Regions from separate parts of the Homo sapiens genome. Here region 1 is linked to region 2. The links are contacts of gene promoters, found by promoter capture Hi-C in blood cells and fetal thymus (Javierre and others, 2016). All regions are on one chromosome and are shown on one strand. Each heading gives the region's core, a stretch centred on a gene start or on the middle of the fragment in contact. The rest is flanking DNA. Distances are from core to core; before and after follow the strand shown. Region 1 has its middle 25 kb from the start of SLC60A1. Region 2 holds the start of KLHDC8A (kelch domain containing 8A).

What was found. The method cuts DNA at HindIII sites, captures the fragments that hold promoters and counts their contacts. A CHiCAGO score of 5 or more calls a contact.
Region 1: a fragment that was not itself captured here is called in contact with the fragment with the promoter of KLHDC8A in region 2 in 2 of 17 cell types (total CD8 T cells and naive B cells); the score reaches 6.6 in total CD8 T cells.

Annotation. Positions count from the first base shown.
Region 1 is chr1:205,542,829-205,545,738 of GRCh38, forward strand. No RefSeq gene overlaps it. Among named protein-coding and RNA genes, the nearest start is that of SLC60A1, 25 kb to the right of the region's middle. RefSeq lists silencers at 573-622, 723-852 and an enhancer at 713-1,007. The HindIII fragment of the contact is 247 bases long and covers 1,309-1,555 here.
Region 2 is chr1:205,355,562-205,358,321 of GRCh38, forward strand. KLHDC8A (kelch domain containing 8A) reads right to left here and starts at 1,361. Exons shown (of 6, transcript NM_018203.3): 1 at 972-1,361. The HindIII fragment of the contact is 6,427 bases long and covers 1-2,760 here.

The DNA of each region.
Region 1 (2,910 bases), core at 182-2,681, 190 kb after region 2:
TTTATTTTTTGAGATGGAGTTTCACTCTTGTTGCCTAGGCTGGAATGCAATGGCACAATCTCGGCTCACTGTAACCTCCGCCTCCCAGGTTCAAGCAATTCTCCTGCCTCAGCCTCCCAAGTAGCTGGGATTACAGGTGCATGTCACCATGCCTGACTAATTTTGCATTTTTAGTAGAAACGGGGTTTCACCATGTTGGTCAGCCTGGTCTCGAACTCCTGACCTCAAGTAATCCACCTGCCTCAACCTCCCAAAATGCTGGGATTACAGGCGTGAGCCACCGCGCCTGGCTAATGTTTTTAATAATTATGAAAATGCTTTCACGCCCAGTAGCCCTTGTTGCCTCACCTTCTGTGAGGGAAACAGAGCATGCACGATTTCCCCATTTCAGTGGATGGGGAAACTGAGGCTTTGGGATTTTGAACTCCTTGCACATGGGAGGTTAAGTGGCAACACTTGGCCTCCTACCAGGCACACCCCTGCCCCAACGCTGTGCACCGTAGGTCAGTAACTCTGAACTGTTTTGTTTGCCAGCTCAGGTTTTAATCCGTTTCAGCATCGGGCCGTGAGCAGTGGCCGCGGGGCTAGCAGGAGAGCCAGAATAAGCAGATTTGGCTTCTAATCTGACTCACCCAACTGGTTCAGAATGCAGCCAAACCGGGGAAATTTGGGTGAGCTCCTCCTCTTCCCCTCCCTCACTTGCTCTCGCAGTTGTCCTCTAGCACCTCTCTCTATCCCTCCCTCCCCGTCCCCCCGCCCCACTCCCCCAGCTCTGGGAGCGCATGCGGGGGCGGGGTCCTAGGAGGATGTGAGCCCATGGACACGCGGGCGGGATGTTTTTCTCCTCGTCATTGTTCTCCCATGCCCATTGTGTGCGCTGAGAGCAGCACGTCACCAAGTCGCCTGGCAGGCTCTCAGCAGAGCTGGGGAATGTTTCCGGAGTGGACTAATCCATTATGAATGGCCGAAACTTTTTAAAAGCTCTGGCGTTTCTTTGCATGGCCAGACTGGGAGAGCCAAAGAGAAGGAAGGATTTGGAAACTCCTGGCTTTGAGGCTACAGGTCCCAGGGACCTTGGCAGACCCGTGGTTTGCCAAGAGGGCCTTTCAGACTGGGCCTGCCACCCAGTGAGGGATCTAGGAATGTCACGTGGAGGGGAAATGGCAGGTGGGGCCGTGGATGGAGGGCTCAGCTGGAGGTGTGGAAGGAGTCAAAATTGTATTATTTTTTGTTTACAACACCTGACCCCAACTTGGGACTTGGGATGGCTCACACCTGAGTATGGGAAAGGACCTAGTCACCTTTGAAAGCTTCACTGAGCTCCCCCCAGAGGAAATGGAAAGTCAGAATTGTTTTGAAGTGGGTCAGTGTTTGCCAGTGGGTGAGTAATGCTCAGTGCTCCCAGCTCTTTCCTCCCAGAGAAAGCATTCCTCTATGCATCCCTCTCTTTACCACTAGGCTGGGGGTGCCATCTCTCCGAGGTGCCCAGTGCTTTGCGTACATTTCTTCATTGTTTGATTGGTCTTGTGAGAATCAACTCACAGCAAGACCAATAAGCTTGTGTAGTAACCTATTTCTTTAGATGAGGAAACTGAGTTTCACAGAGACTGAGATTGCTCCAGACCACGCAGCTACTTTGTGGCAGAGCTGGGACTGGAACCCAGGTCTGTGACACTCCAAAGTCCATGTTCTGCGACAGAATTTCTCAAGCATTCAGGTGCATAAGTGATGGCTGGGGTGCCAGCCGAGAGTGCAGATTTCTGGGCGCTGTCCCCTCTTCCTCATCCTAATTCAACAAATCAGAGTTGGGGGCAGGAATCTGCATTTTTGACAAATAACAGGTGATTCGGAAGCGGTTGGGGCAAGGTTGAGAAACACTGACTTGGGGCTCTGTTGTTGTTGTTATTGCTTGAGACAGAGTCTTGCTCTGTCGCCCAGGCTGGAGTGCAGTGGCACGATCTTGGCCCATTGCAACCTCCACCTCCCAGGTTCAAGCAGTTCTCCTGCCCCAGCCTCCCAGTTAGCTGGGATTACAGACGTGTGCTACCACGCCTGGCTAATTTTTTTTTATTCTCCAATTTAAAACTTTTAATTAAAAAGTAAACTTCAATGTCAAAAATGCAAACTTGGGGAGGGCAGAAGTATCACCCACAAGGCTGTCACTTCACACTTGGAGGGTTGCACAGCGGCCAGGCAGAGGCACTCCTCACATCCCAGATGGTGGGCGGCGGCCGGGCAGAGGTGCTCCTCACTTCCCAGACAGGGTGGCGGCCAGAAAGAGGCACTCCTCACTTCCCAGACAGGGCGGCGGCCAGAGAGAGGTGCTCCTCACTTGACACGTGGCTAATTTTTGTATTTTTAGTAGGGATGGGGTTTCACCATGTTGAGCAGGCTGGTCTTGAACTCCTGACCTCAGGTGATCCCGCTGCCTCAGCTTCCAAAGTGCTAAGATTACAGGCGTGAGCCACCACGCCCACCCAGGGCTCTGTTTTATGACGTCAGCCAAAAGAGCAGCAACCTGGTCTGAAAACAGGCGCAGGCTAGGGCCCTGCTGAGCCCTCAAGGGGCGGCCCTCTCCCCTCACTCCGCCTTCACCTATAGAGTGAAACCCAAGAGAAGTAGCCCCATCTCTCAGAAGGCAAAGGACCCATCTTCTGCCTAGAAAATCTCCCATTGCACTTTATAACATTTTCAACCCCCAGAGAGAAACCTGAACCACACCGGAACATTTAGTCATCCCTCAGAGGTTTATGGGCCCCTTGCCATGAGTAGGGGTTGGGACAGATACCACTCAGATGGGTGTAAAGCAGGTTTCTCAGAGATGGGTGCATCAGGACCCTCCTGCTTCAGAATTATCTGAGGGTCTGCTAAGAATGCAGAGTCCTGGGCCCTACCCCAGACCTCCAAAGT
Region 2 (2,760 bases), core at 111-2,610:
AATCATCTTTAACAAGTATATGGTGCTCAATATGCGTCATGAACTGATCAGAGTTTGGTGTGTGTGTGAGTTGTGTGTGTGTATAATTTAGCCTATAAAGTAGGTACTATTATTATTGTCATTGTACAAAGGTGAAAACTTAGACTTAGAGAGGTTAAATGACTTGCCCAAGGTCACACAGCCAGAACAGGGATGTGACATCTAGCTTGCCTGGCCCCGGAATCCCCATACCTGTCTATGTAGATATTCTTTCTTACCAGATGGTAAGCATCGGAAGGCAGGAACCATGTTATGTGCCATTGCTGTCAAAGCACTTTCCCTTCGGAGCCAAGCACAGCAATGTGTATGTACATAGTAGGTAGTCCATAAGTTTTAAAAATCTTAATTTTAGACCCAGGGGCATGTGCGCAGGTTTGTCACAAGGGTGTATTTCGTGTTGCTGTGGTTTGGGTTTCTATTGATCCCGTCACCTGTATAGTGAACACAGTAACCTAATAGGAAGTTTCTCAGCCCTTGTCCCCCTCCCCCCCTCCCTCCTTTTTGAGTTCCCAGTGTCTATTGTTCCCATCTTGATGTCCATCTGCATCCAGGGTTTACCTCCCACGTTTGTAAGTGAGAATATGCAATATTTGGTTTTCTGTTTGATATTCCATAAAGTTGAGCTGAATTCGGATCAGAAGCCAGAAGTTCTGGAGGTTGGCTGTATGTTGGTCAGTCTGTGCCCTGGACAGCAATCTTTGGAGTTAATTAGCTGGGTTAAAACCAGATGGGAAGGAACCTTTAACTTCAAAGCTAGAGAGGCCCAGCTGAGGAGAAAAGGCCCTTGGAGACCCTTGTCCCTCCTGACCCCCATGCCAGCCTGTCTACCTGGGCAGCCCTCCTCTCACAGACACCACTGCCTGTCTCCCCACCAGCAGGCCCTCAGAATGCCAAGGCATCACTCTGCATAGATGGATTGAAATAAAACTTACCTGACTGGAGGGAAAAGGATCGACACCCGGCGATCATCTGCAAAAGACAAAGAAGGGGAGGGGCCGGGAGAGGGTCGAGCGGGTGTTGGCTCTGAGGCTTGTCCTAGGAGCTGGCTGGGAATAGAGTCGGCAAGGTCCCCAGGGTCCCCAGGGCTTCCTCCACAATTGATGAGTCCACTGCTGCTGCCTCTGGCTGATCGACTGGGATGCAGCCAGGCCCCTATGCACAGGGCATGGGGCCAGCCCCGCCCTGAATGCACAGAAACTTGGGGTCCCTGAGTTCCAGGAGGCGTGACCCCCCTACTGAGAGGGCCTCAGCCAGCTCGTCAGAGCCCCAGTGTCTCCGCGCCTCTCCCTCCACCCAGTCTCAGCTGCAAAGGCCCGCTCTGCGAGGAGAGCGGGTGAGGGGGCGGACACGCTCACACACACAGACAATAACTGCCATGGAAACTAACCAACAAAAAGAAGATTTAGGGAGCCGGACTCCTCTGCCAGATGGGAGAGAATGGAGGGAAGAGAGAAAGGGGCTGTCCTTTGCAACGCTGCCAGTTATGCAAAGGGCAAATGTGCACCTCAGCCCTAATCCAACAATTGCAGATTTTTCCCTCCTCAGGGGTGGGGCTGTGGGTAAAAGGCAGAGAAGTGGGTTGACCTTTTTATATGAAGGTCCCAAACAGCCACCCCATACCTTTGCCTTTCTATGCACAGAGGAGGCATCAGTGTGGTCCAGCGTGGGTGCGAGATTCCCAAGGAAATGCTCAGCACCGCTGGCAAAGCGAAACTCGTTCCACAAAGCAACGTGTTTTACCAGGTCAAGCTGAACCTCAGGGGAATTTGATCACTTTACTTGGGCAGAAGGCTTGAAGGACTTTCTTAGATGAAAAGCCCACTGTTTAATGGGTAGCAAAACAAGGCTTTTCTTCAAGACCAACCTTTCTATCCATGATGTTAAATCTGACTGCCCGTAGTTTAAAGAAAGCCGGGGATGGAGTGGGGGCTAGCATCGATATGGCTTTCCTTCCGATGGCCTTTAGTTTTGTTTGGGGAGATTTTTCTCTCTGGGATAAAAGAAAATCTAATGAGGGAACTTAAAAAAAATTCTCTGGAGGTACTGTAAGGGAAATAAGGTAATCTGAGCACCAGAAATCCTGCTCTAACTCTTTAGCTGTGTGACCTTTGGCAAGTTTCTTCGTCTGTAAAATGGGACCAATGGGGTTGTAGAGAGGATTAAATGAGGTAATATGTGTAACGTGCTTAGAACAGTACCTGGCTCATAGTATTTGCCATTGTTATGGCTATTGTTGTTAATCTTTCTGATCCTCCCTTTCCTCAGCTATAAAATGGAGCCAGTGACACCAATCTCTCATGGATTAAGTGTGAGGATGAATCATGTCGTTATAACTGATGGAGTGGTGGTTATAAGGGTGTATACATTTGTCAAAAACCATCAAACTGTGGGTTTTATTGTGTGTAATTTATACCTCAACTTTTTAAAATATAGGTTTATATCACCAGGTAAAGCAGCCATGAGTGTCTAGAACATAGGAAATATTTATTCCCTTCTTCCTCCCTAGCCATCTTTTCAGGAAGAGAGGAAAGAGAAAGTGAATGTTAGAAGAAAGAAGTAAAATAGAGAATTGCTGGGTGCAGTAGCTCATGCCCATAATCCCAGCACTTTGGGAGGCCAAGGTAGGAGGATCATTTGAGACTAGTCTGGGCAACATGGCAAAACCCCACCTCTACAGGAAATACAAAACTTAGCCGGGTATGGTGGTGTTTACCTGTGGTC